Regions from separate parts of the Homo sapiens genome. Here region 2 is linked to region 1. Evidence: promoter capture Hi-C in 16 types of primary human blood cells and fetal thymus (Javierre and others, 2016). All regions are on one chromosome and are shown on one strand. Each heading gives the region's core, a stretch centred on a gene start or on the middle of the fragment in contact. The rest is flanking DNA. Distances are from core to core; before and after follow the strand shown. Region 1 holds the start of TSHZ1 (teashirt zinc finger homeobox 1). Region 2 overlaps LOC105372201 (a long non-coding RNA gene).

Region 1 (6,288 bases), core at 2,028-4,527:
ACCCTGTAATTAAACTTACACAGAACCTTCTAGTATGGAATCTATTTTTGAAATCTCACTTCAAAACACAGGACACTTGGAACATGTGCTGTCTCAATTTCCTCTCAACTAAAATATATTTTGGCTCCATTTTTTAGGGTTTTTTCCCTCTCAAGTTCCTGTACAGCAGATGACTCAGTCATCAACTCTTCATAGCCATCACTTTGCAGCATTTTGATTAAGTATGCCAAATGTCGTGTAGAGGAAAGAATGGAAACACTAAGCCTGCCAACTTTTGATTGACCATTAAAGCCAATGATATATGTGCCTGTCAAAAGACAGACAATTAAATCAATATTGGAAAAAAGTCGCCTTGACGGCTTGTTTTTATGTAAGAGCTGCCAGGATGGATTACCATGCACCATCATGCCCTTGTCAACTTTCAAACCTTTTATTTAAAAAAAAAAAAAATGTGGTATTTAAAGTTGCAGTACCTCATTCCCTCAGCATTTTGTTTGTCCTTGGAAATATTCACCGCAATTTTAACTGCAAAAGTTCTTAAGAGTACAGGAGTAGTTTTCTGAACACAACTTTTTATTGTACATTCTGTCATTTAAAAAAAAATCCCTCTAACTGTGAAAATGTAAAGACCTCTTGTTTCTAGCATGAGCAAGTGGCGAATATCTTGAGACACTGAGCTATATTATTTGGGGGCTACCAGTGGCATAGATACTCTCTTTGAAAGGTTTCTTCCTCCATTACTCAAAGTTATTCCAAAATAAATATTCTCCATTCTGTTCCTTTTATGTTGTGAATACTCAGCATAAGGTAATCTCCTTCAACTCTTTGAGAGCATCTCTATCAGTGATCTAATGGAAATGATGAGGTTATTTTACTGAACCATTCATAAACGTAGATACTATTCCCAAATTTTTTTAGTAGCAGTAATCTCTGCTTTAAGTGCTTCCCCAGAAAAAGCACGTATAAAGACTTGAACACGTGCACATTACTGAATGTGATACTCAAACTTATTCAGATTCTATTCTGTACTGCAACAGCTAAAGAGTCGCTCATGTTTAAACATAAAACACTCCTTCTAATATTTTTACCCTAAGAGCTTGGAGAGAGTTGATTTACTCTATTATTTAGCGATAACTCACTGGCATATGGGTTGCATTCTCAGCCCCACAAACGCAATGTCCAAAACTGAGACAAGACTTGAGCAGGCAGCAGAATCACTGGGCTATTTTCAAACCTGTGCTCAAAAACGCACGGCAGCTGACCCACCCCAGGTTTAGCAATGGATTAGTAGGTGAGCTGAGTTAAGGGATGCTGCAGCTGTAAAACTTCTGAGACAAAATTAAAATGGAGCAGCAAAAGGGGGAGCGAGAGAGAAAAGTTGCCCTGATAGTGGCGGAGCTGTCAGGAGCATGTGTGTTTCCATGGTGAGTGATTTATTGATGTTTATCAGGAATGAATAGATCAAAGGCTGCCAGATGACAGGCGATCAATCACACATCAAATCAAGGATGGCAATCCTCTAATAAAACAGAAAACAAGGAAAACCAGCTCCTGCCAGTTCCTCCTCCAGAGAAAAATAACTTTTCTGTTCAATCAGAGTCTGCACTATCACTGCCTTGTGCTGGCCTGATCAAAAGACATCTTTAGAGGTAATAAAAAAAAAGTGGGGGCGGGGGGCCTCTTGCACAGGACATTAAAGGCTGCTGTTTTCCAGAGAAATCTTCTGAACACATTCTTTGCGTCCCAGCCTGGTGACCTTGTTTTCAAGTGTCAGGTTCAGCCTCCCCGCCTTTGGAGGACTTTTCCAGTGCGCTCCGGCAGCCAAGGAGCAACTACTTCCCCTCAGCGCACGCCCCCTCCTGAGGTAGCCAGAAGCACCCGCCGTCCCGCGGCCCCCGGCCTCCCCCGGCCATCCGGGCTTCCCGCAGCGCAGAGAAGCACCGCGAACTTTCTCTGCTCCACGCGCCGGCCCAGGTTGGGGGTGTGGGGGAGGACGGCGACCGCAGCCTCCAGACGACTGTGGCCAGCGCAGGCTGGGCCTCCCCTCCCCAGCTTGGGGCGGCCCGCGGCCCACGTCCCGCACCTCGGCCCGCGAAGCCCCCTCCTCCTGCTCCTCCCGGCGCCCACTCCCCGCGGCGCGGGCCGCGCGCCCGTTACCTGCCGAGCGCCGGGGGGCCTGCTGCTTCCTCCTCGGCATGCTGCTCGGCCGCCGCAGCCGTCGCCTCAGCCGCCGCCGGAGTTCGCGGGGCGCGGGGACGCGGGGCCCCGGGCGCGGGCGCAACTCCGCGGCGCGCCCAACTTTGGCCTCGTCCCCGCGGGCTCCGGGCTCCGGGCGCGCCGCGGACCGCGGGGAGCCGCTCGCATGGACCGCCGCGCCCGGGGCCGCTCAGGAGGCGGCGGCGGCGGCCGCGCGGCCCGCTTCCCGGCGCCGGGCTGCGGGCGGAGCGCGCGGGGCCTGGGCGCCGAGCCCGGAGTCATCCCCGGCGCGGGCCGCGGGCGCAGCAGCGGGCGCTCGGCGGGCCGGCCCGCGGCCCGCGCTCCATGCTGCCGCCTCCCCGCCGCCGCGCTGCTGCTGGGCGGGCGCTCCTCCCGGCGCGCCGCTCCGGGCGCTCCCCTGCGCCTTCTTCCGCGAGCCGAGAGTCGCCGAGCGCAACTTTCTCTCCCCCTCTCTCCTCGCTGTTTGGGGGTCGCGGCGAGTGTTTTTAGTGCGCGGGTCGCAGCTTTCTCATTGTGCGCCAGCGAGGCCGATGCAGGCTGTCCTTTTCCTCCCCGCACTTAGTCTAAGAGGAAGAAAGCAAACAAGACAGAGGAGTGAAGCCCCCGTACATACATGCGCCGGGGGGAGATGTCAGGCGCTGCTCCACCTTCCAAACAGTCACAGATCAAACAGTGTCACCCCGCCGGAGCGCCACTTGGTGCCCCGCGCTTCCACCCGGGGGGCTTGGCCGCCAGGATCGCCGCTTCTTCCAATGCGAAATCTAATGCAAACACATTTTGATCATGGATTTTTGGCCGGTCTTGATCTTCCAACAGAAAAAAATTTGAAAAATACACAAAAAGCACCCCCCCCTCCAAGAAAAAAAAAAGGCAACAACAACCCGGAGAGTGTGTGCAAAGGGGGTGAAGAGCAGACATTCACTGGGTGGGCGAGATGAGCGTGGACTGTCCCCCCCCCCCTCAAACTCCTGGGAGAGAGGGAGATGCACTCTCGCTCTCTCCTCTTTTCAGTGAAATATAACACACATTCGGATCGCAGAGCTTTCAGACAGTCTCAACTGATAGACAGACACATCGAGCTGCTTTTCCTGCTTCAGTTTTTACTCCTCCTCCTCTCGCCAACGTCACCCTGACAATTACAAATAGGTCTCTCACAAACCATACCTGTCAATCTTTTTAATTGCTTTGTTTTCTTTTTTTCGGAGCTAAACAATATGACAAAAAAAAGAAATCTTAATACAGCATAACATAAAAGATTGTACATTGGAGGAATTCATTCAGTGTTGTTATTGTAACCCACTGGCTGATACCGGGTAAAACCCATATGCTCTAAGTTAAGTAGACATTAGTTCCTGCAGATTTTTAAACCTGTTAGTTCCCCCCCAACACACACACATACACATACACACACTTGCACATTCATACACACGCAACCACGTGCATCCAAACTACCCTTGGGTGAAGCATGTCCTACATTTGGGGGGAAAAATATCTGTGTCGCTTTTGCAATCTCAGGTTGGGGGGTTAGATTTGGCTGGGGAGGAGCCCAGAGTAGCTTTTATATTTTGGTAATTCGTGGGTAACTGAAAAGCAAGATATTTTTAAAATTAAATTTTACAATTTAAATAAAAATGTAAAGATGGACTTAGTTCATCACAGAAAAGTGTGGAAATATTTAATTTGGCCCCTCTATAAAAAGTGAATTGACATTTGGTCCATGCACGCCAGTAGGGAGAAAACGGACACGATGGAACGACAGATCTTTCTAGCTGGGTTCGAAAATGAGGTCCTCACACAGCAGTGCAACGTCTCCAATTCAGTTAAGTCCCTCGGCATCCCCACGTAGAACTTTAAAATGTGTCTGTGCTCTGGGAATTTGGCCTTCTGGTTTTCTATATGTGTGTTCTCTCCCAATGGGAAACCTGTAACAGTCTTGTAGATCTACTTAAAACATTCATGGAAAAACATGAAATCTAGGCCAAAATAAATAAAATGGCTTAGTTCCTGCAACTTGCATGGGACAGACCGTGGACAGAAAGCACGCGCAAGGGGTTCCGGGGACAGGAAGCCACCAGCCTGGGGAGCGGGAGGCACTGGACATTTCCCCGCCCCGCGGTCGGTACGGGTGCGCGTGCGGCAGCGGCGGCAGGGGCTCCCCGCCCTGCCCGGGGTCCCCGGTCGTGCCCCGCCGCCCGGGCCGCGCTCGGGGTTGATTCGTACCACCTTGCAAGGAAGTGAACGCTTCGCACGGGAAGGGGAGGCGCCTGCGCCGGCCGCCGCGCAGCTCCGGGGACGCCCGGGGCTGCCGCCGGCTCGGGGCCGCAGACGACCGCGGGACGCGCGAGTCCCCCGTCCCCCCTTGCCCGCCGTCCCCCCCGCCACCCTTGCCCGAGAGGAGTCAAATCCGGCTTTTAGAGCTCGGGGAGGGTGGGGATATCCGGTGCCTCTCCCGCGCCAGGAGGAAGGGGGAGGGCGGAGAGGATCCTTGGCCAGTCTGCGCCGAGCAGATTCAAACCAAAACAAAAAGATTAAAGGAGCAGCGGCCGGGGCGGCAGCGGTCCCCAGGCCGGGACACCCGGGGTGGTGCGCCCGGGTTCGCGGGGGCTGCGCCGGCGCCGGGGAGGCGGGGGGAGCGGGAGCGGGCGACGCGGGGAAGGGGGGAGCCAGGGGGAGGGCGCCGGCCGGAGGAGGGGCGGACCCGCCCGCCCTAGCCGAGCAGAGCACAGCCGAGCCGAGCGGCCCGGGCGGGGGCCGACCCCGGCCAGCGTCGGCGCAGAGAGCGGGCGGAGGCGCAGGCCATGCTGCGGCTGGTGCCCACCGGGGCCCGGGCCATCGTGGACATGTCGTACGCCCGCCACTTCCTGGACTTCCAGGGCTCCGCCATTCCCCAAGCCATGCAGAAGCTGGTGGTGACCCGGCTGAGCCCCAACTTCCGCGAGGCCGTCACCCTGAGCCGGGACTGCCCGGTGCCGCTCCCCGGGGACGGAGACCTCCTCGTCCGGAACCGGTGAGCCCGGCGCCCCCCAACCCCACGCCCCCGTTCTCGCCCCGGGCTCGCGCCGCGCCGCGCCGCTCCCGCAGTCCCCAGCCCGCCCGCGTGCCCACACTCCGGCGCGCGCTCGGGCGCACAGCCTGAGTTTGCGAGATCCCGGGAAGTTGAACCCGCCGCCATCTGGCGAAGGCGAATGTGATGTGACTGTTGCTGGTGTGAATATCCGATGCCACCGAACGTCCTCATAACTGAGGGTTATTTTAATTTGGGATTCCCCTCCCCTCCTCCAGCCCTCCCTCCTCCCCCTCCCGCTCCCGAAATAAAACCGACGGGACCCAGAAGGGGAGGCTCCCCGCCGGGCCGCCCGCGCGCACCCACAGTTCCTGCGTTGACATAATCTTTAGGGTGGAGCGGGAGCAGCCTGGACGCAAACTGCGACGTTTAGGTAAACGTGCTTCGGAGGAAGGAGGCTGGGACCCGGCTGGCTTTCCCTGTTCCCTCCAGGTTGGCAGCCGCCTCGCAGTGGCGGAGCCTGTCGTTGGATGTGTGGGTGTGCACCTCGCCGGTGTTGTCTGCGTGCTGTCAGTGCAGTGTGACTGTTGTCTGTCCCCTGAGTGTTAACGACCGCCGCGTGGCGCGTGTCCCGGGCAGCTGGGCCAGGGTCGGGGTGGGGGCATGGCTGCCTTTGCCGGCACGTTTTGCAGACATTCAGGTGACACCGGGTTGTTGCGAGACCTTCTGGCTTTTCCATTCCCCGCGCTCCCCACCGTCGTGTTTCCGCCTCACTCATCTTTAGTAACTGGCGAAGCAACAGGGAGGAAACGGACCTCACTCTTTATCGGAGCCATGCCCGCTTAGGTCTTTGCTCCGTGGGTCCCTGGCTGCCCGACTTGACTGGCAAGGCGCTCCTCTATGCCCTCTGCAGAGGCCTGCAAAGTCCCATCGAAATGTTTACGGTGCTGCATGTGTCAAGTTGAATAATAATATCGAAAGGGAGGAGTAAGTTCTGACTGTAACTATGTTGTAAATTGTGTACTAGAAAGTACCGTAAAGTCCCTTGCACGGACTGAAGGACAAAA
Region 2 (6,288 bases), core at 1,468-3,967, 270 kb before region 1:
AATGTATGTTAAATAAATCTTTTTCACTATGTTGAAAGTTTAAGCGATTTAATAAAAATAGAATCCAACATTTTACGACTTGAACAAGACTTCAAATGCAGCATTACTAAACTCCATTCTTCCCGTGACGGCATCACCTGGCAGTTCAGCGTGAGACAGGCTTGCCTCCTACATAGCTCCAGAGCAACTGTGTGGGAGGTGAGCCTGGCCCTGTAACCTGGTAAGGCCACAAAAGCTTAATTAATTTTCAGAAAACAAAGTTACTTGTATGGCCTAATTAGCCTACATTTCTTAAACAAACCCAACACAAAGCTAGGTGATATCATTTTATGCAAACAAACAATAACACCTGATCACTCCCCACACTTAGATGCCACCATTATTATAGTTGTTCAACCTTTTTTAACTCTCCATTGCTTGGAATAATAATAACCTGTTAGAACTTTGAAATGAAAATCTTTCCACTTGACAAATGCTGATGTTTTTAAGCATTTCAAAAGCCAGTGTCAAACAGGCTTGCTTTTGATTTTCATCTTGGTCTGTGCATGAGCATTAGAGAAATTAACAAGAGCGAAAGGCCTGAGATTAGCCCCTCCTCCATAATTCCCTAACGTCAATCAGTAGGGGGAGCTCTCCTATTATTTAAGTGTCCACAAACAAAGCACAGAAGCATTTTTATTGACTCTCCTGGGGACAATGGTGAGGTTTTTCTTTAAATGGATGTTATAACCTGAAGAACATTAAGACAATGATTTGTTCAAAGTTAGAGATGTACCTCATTCAGCACTGACAACATATTTTCTAAAACAGCCTTGCAAATTAACGAGGGTGTAAGAGTTGCAGGCCTGTAGAAAATTATCCCATTCCAAGAAGGAATCAAGTACCTGTCACTTATAGTGGAATAAAACTTAATTGCATCAGAATTCTAATGGCCATAATGGGCTTCATCATCTCTTTAATATGACAGAATATATGGAAAGGTTATAAAAAGGGAAAAATTGACTAACAGATTTTTAGACTTTGAGAAAGGTGGCTTTAAGCTATAAATTATAATGTGAAAGGCACAAAATGAAAAGAGCATCAGAAAGTATTAGACTCTTTGAGATTTTGTAGTTAAATTAAATAAAATGTCATGGTAAGGAAATGAATGGTATAACCCGTAAGCTTTTCATGTAGTTTGCTAAAATAACACTTCCACAATTAGAGATTTGCATGATTCTTTTTATTATTATTTTCTGTAAAGATTGGGTCTCCCTATGTTGCCCAGGCTGGTCTCAAACTCCTGGCCTCAAGCGATCCTCCTGCCTTGACCTCCCAAAGTGTTGGGATTACAAGTGTGAGCCACTGCACCTAGACTGCATGATTCTTTATTGGAGCTTTTGAGTGAAAGTAATGAAGTCCCTATACATGTACACAGTATATATCACAATATGGTAAACTGAAGACCAGAAAATACACAGTGAAGTTATCAATAGGCAACAACAGCAAGAATTGTGTATCCCTCTATGAGTACATCATATTGCTAAGTGTGACAGAAACTGTCAATGTCCCCAAGTTGCTCCCACTCTCTCTTGATAATACAGTTACCAATTTTAGTCTGGGTATATGAGTTCTCATGGGAAAAACTACAATCCCCATCCTTCCTTGCAGCCAGTAGAAGCAAGGTGACTGCATTCTGGCCAATGGGGTAAGAACAGATGGACTGTGCAGAGTTGCAGTGCACAAGAGAAAGAGGAACATGCTTTTACCAACTCCATTTCCCCTTCCCACTGGCTAGAATGTGGATATGATGGTGAGTCATCTGGGGCTATGTGGAGAGGACAACAGGTCAGGAGAGTGAGGCAAAAAGGTAGGAAGAGCTTGAGCCCGTCATAACTTTGCAAAGCAGAACCACCAAACCAGATTTTACTTTGCTGTGAGAGAGGACTGTCTCCAGGTTATTCAGACTAGTCTCCATTTGTCTCTGTGTCTCCACAGTTTAACTAGTATCCTATACTGATAATATTATAAGAAACATAAAATAATACCTGAAATCTTATTTCTTTCTGTTGTGGAATTACCTAGGAGTTTAGAAAGTGAGCCCAGCATTGGGCTAGCATCAAACATTTATAATGAGACTTATTGACTAGTGATTCAGTGTTTGCATTTGGGAGATGGATAGATAATAGATAGAAAGATAGATAGATAGATAGATAGACAGACAGACAGACGTATATTTCCCCTATGAACAGGCAGTAGAGGAGGATGGGGAAGAGGAGGAAGAAGAAGGAGGACAAGGAGGAGAATGGGGTGGGAGAGGAGGAAAGAAAGGACCATCTCAGTTCTTGGCTGGAATTGTCCCAGTTACATCCGTGGTGTGATGTTGTTAACTTGCCTTTTTTAACTCTCAAAAGTATCCTGACTTGAACAATAACTTACATGGCCATTCTGCCTCTTGGTGTCCTTTCAATAATCCCAAACTACCTCATATAGCTGGAGCTTGATATTCAAAGTGTATAATCCACTGTAGAATGTGGGCATGGTGTGAACAGGACCTCTATATAAGAAATGCCAGTACAGATACTAAAACTAAAAGAATGCAAAATGCAAAAGTCTAAGAAAAAGATCACTGCAGGTGAAACAATGAAAAGTATTTGGTTTTATCAAACCAAATTTAGAAGAGAAAATTGTGGTAGGAATGGTTTCCATAAGCTGGAAGAAGAAGAGAAAAATAATACAGAGAAAGCAGCCCAAGAAGACAGGAAGAACCTGGTCAAGGGAAGAGACGCTGAGGACCGTAAGGGAGATCTTGGCAGCAAGGATCAGCAGAAGCGATCTTTAGCATGAGTGCTTTGCTTCTATGTTATACATGTTTTCATAGAACTGGGTAATAAAGGTGTAACAGGTGTTCAGAAAACACACCGCTCCTACCCACGGCCCTTCAGTGGCACACCCACATCACTCAAGCCTCACATAGGACAGTGCAGAAGCATTAGAAGAGCATGAAGTGGTGAGAGTTAGCCTTTCAGAGACATTTATCAATGGGTTTCTTTTTTCTTAAAGAAAAGAGATACATCCTGAGGCTAACAATACTTCTGTTTATTTCTTATAAGTTCACAAAATGGCAGGGCTTCCAATGAAAATTAATATTTGCTTAGTGGATCCATGATTAGCCTATTTCATCAGACCCCAATTATGCCCGTGTGTTACCCCTGAGCTCTCCTTGCCCGTGCCTGTCCCCAGCAGGATGAAGGAGACACACACAGGGCAGCTGCATTCCTGTGTCTGTGATTAAGGGGGTGAAGAAGGAAAAAAGTTAGAGGTGAGAAAGTGCTTCAAACCCAAACATAGTGTACACATCTACAAATTTTCACAAAATGTTAACAGACACAGCAAATCACTTACTAAGATGTTCTTTAGCCTCAAGTGTCAGGATAATTTTACAGTTTTAAGTCTGTACTTTAAGTAGTCAGTACTGTTAGAATTTTCTTTAAAATCCACGAATATCAATGTGTTTACATAGTTGGGTATTATCTTCACAGATTTAATGGAGAATATAAAATTTATAAATTTTAACAGAAATGCACAGAAGATGAAATTTATTCATGGTAGTGGTTTTCTTTTTGTTTTTGTCTTTCATGTTTTTTATTTTTTATTTTTTTGTTTGTTTTGCTTTTTGTTTGTTTGTTTGTTTTTGTTTATAACATCTGCTTGTTTAACTTCTGGAAGCACCAGAAAGCTAGACAAGGCCGGGGTGGAGTCCAGGGAAAGGAAAGATGTCTATTTTGAATAATTTGTACAAGCTAGAAATGGTTCCAAAGGATCACAACGAAGTGGTTTCCTAATGAGAAACATTTTCCTTCACACAGATTGGGCTCAGAGGATGGGATCAACTCACACGCCATAGTTGCATGTGAATACACAACCATAGTTTTCATTGTGATTTAAAGTAGTAACCGAAAAGACTAGTGTGTTTGCTAGACAGGATAGAAGTGAGTGGGAAGCGTGTAGCTTATAATGTCGGGGAAAAATAAACTGACTTAATAGCTGAAGTCTGCAGAACAGAGGCCACAATGTTAAGGCAGGTGAAAATGTTAAGGGATGCTAATTTTTGCTATTGGTAAAGGACTCAAAGTTTTAAGGACTCCATTCCCAAGAGGAAATGCACATTCAATGACAACTTGGATAGTGGCGTGTGACTCCTCAGCCCAATATTATAACATGTCAAGTATTTTCCAAAAGCCACCCACTCTGCTCTATAAACAGATGAATCCTGGCTGAAGAAAGCTTCACTAACTTTGAAGATTTGAAAGGCATACAAATCTTAGGGAAACAAATCGTGACCAATAAAAGTTGAAGAGCATCTGTAAGACAGTATTACAAAGCTGGCTGACTTCCATGACTGGAGAATGGTATTAGGAAAGTGACTCAGCAAGATTCTTTAAGAAAAAAAAAGCTGAGTTATTGGGTTAAAACATCATTGGTTCATTTTGAGGCATTACAGATATTTGGAAAATAAGACCAAAGTCTTATCATCATGATAAAGCAGGCTGGTGAAGAAATCGCAGAACTGGTTACCAGTTTAATCAACTTAGTAGTTTCCTCTCACCCTGTTTTTTTTTTTTTAAGAGTGATCAATAAAAACATTAATTTTCAGGAAGCAATAAACACAGAGCTATGTGGTAGGAAGAATAAGAGCAGACATAATTTTTTTGTCTTAGACACATAGAGTAAGACGTCATCATAGGTATAAATTTCTTATATGATGTTCACATAATTACGTCTTATTTCAAAGGCATTAGGACTCCATCCTAGAAATTAAACAGAAAAATGACACATCCAGTTGACCCCATCCAGGGGGCCTCTACATCTTTAACAGTTCCGTGATCTGGTAGCCAAGTCTCTCCTAAGGAGAGGTTGAATGCAATCGCGTTCATGGGTCAAGCATAGTGTCTGTGTGGCCCACGTTCTCCATGAACCTGTGGGGCCACTCTTGTTGTTGAGTTGCTGCTGCTGTTATGGTTATGATCATTACATGTCCTTTACAAAGAGTTCTGGGATAAGGATGTCTATATAAAGGTGTCTATATTGATTATTTTATTCATCTAACATCATGTATTTTATTATTAATGTTAAAATGTAAGTAAATCTCAACTAATTCATTCATTTTTCTTCACTTATCCTATTACTAAGCACATTTGTCAACAATTCATAGAAAAATACACAGTGGTGGGTTTTTATAATGTTTTAAAATAACTGCCCACACATTTGGTCCCACTGTTTTATGATGCAATTCTTGGTCCTCTAATGAGCTTGCCAGTTGGCTCCTAAGCCTTCCAGGCCAGCATTCCCTAACACTGAGAAGCATCTCAGAAGTGCCTCGATTCAGAGGTAGACATAAAGCTGGCTGAGTAGAGTGCTTGTGATTGAACGTGTTTTGTTATTGTTTACATTAATAAAATATAAATAAAGTGCCAAACTCAGAATTTGCCCCTCAAAGTGAGATGCCATGTGCTTATGGTCTTCTGGGGAAGAAATGAGGTGGCTGGTTTTTCATGGCTTGACTATTCCCACGGAGCAGGCATCATTCTTCTCTTGCAACTGCAATATTTTTTTTCTATTTTCCTTCAATTCTCACAAGATCTTCTCTCATTAATGTCTAAACCAGGAAAAGTTTTAACAGTTAATTTTTTCACTTAACCAAAATGTATCTTAATTTCTTGTAGAGTTTTTAAAATTTAGCTTTGAAGTGTAATAAAATTAAATAGATTTGTTTTAGAATTTTCCAAAAATGAAGTTTTGGGAGAAGATGGAAAATATGGAAATATTTTTCCTAAGAATTCATTTACTTTCATTTATTTTTCTTTTCTTTTCTTTGTTTTTAGAAAACATTGAGAGAGAAATAAAGTTTCACAATTCCATCATGCCAGAAACATCTATTAAATTGAATAGGAGTGAAAATATTAACCCTCAATATTACATTCTACGTGTATGTTGAATATATTTGTCTGTTAGGCATATAGGACTCTTGGTCTTCTAGAGAATTCAAGAACTGTCAGAAACGGTTACAGTGGAAAACTTTTTTTTTCCAGGAAGCAAAAATATGTTAATGCCAAATCAATTGCATTCTTTTCAATTCCATTCAAGCAGGAAAGGAAATCTCTATCTGAAATTCAGACCCACTTTTACCACATCTCATTCTTAATTATCTAGACAAATATGGCAACTTCCTGCTCACTTTTTCTGAAGATATATAACTTTGGACTAACTTTCAAAAGCAGCTAACCTTAACAAGGATGTGGCAGCTGT

What was found. The method cuts DNA at HindIII sites, captures the fragments that hold promoters and counts their contacts. A CHiCAGO score of 5 or more calls a contact.
Region 2: a contact is called between a fragment that was not itself captured here and the fragment with the promoter of TSHZ1 in region 1, in 2 of 17 cell types (endothelial precursors and M2 macrophages). The highest score is 6.6, in endothelial precursors.

The regions. Positions count from the first base shown.
Region 1 is chr18:75,207,786-75,214,073 of GRCh38, reverse strand. TSHZ1 (teashirt zinc finger homeobox 1) reads right to left here and starts at 3,277. Exons shown (of 2, transcript NM_001308210.2): 1 at 2,158-3,277. The coding sequence starts at 2,197. It overlaps PTGR3 (prostaglandin reductase 3), which reads left to right and starts at 4,935. Exons shown (of 2, transcript NM_175907.6): 1 at 4,935-5,224. The coding sequence starts at 5,016. RefSeq lists silencers at 1,964-2,283, 4,221-5,260, 5,286-5,461 and enhancers at 3,166-3,460, 4,500-5,430. The HindIII fragment of the contact is 17,256 bases long and covers 1-6,288 here.
Region 2 is chr18:75,473,538-75,479,825 of GRCh38, reverse strand. LOC105372201 (a long non-coding RNA gene) reads right to left here. Exons shown (of 3, transcript XR_935637.3): 2 at 6,266-6,288; 3 at 1,280-5,638. Among named protein-coding and RNA genes, the nearest start is that of SMIM21, 49 kb to the right of the region's middle. The HindIII fragment of the contact is 3,102 bases long and covers 1,167-4,268 here.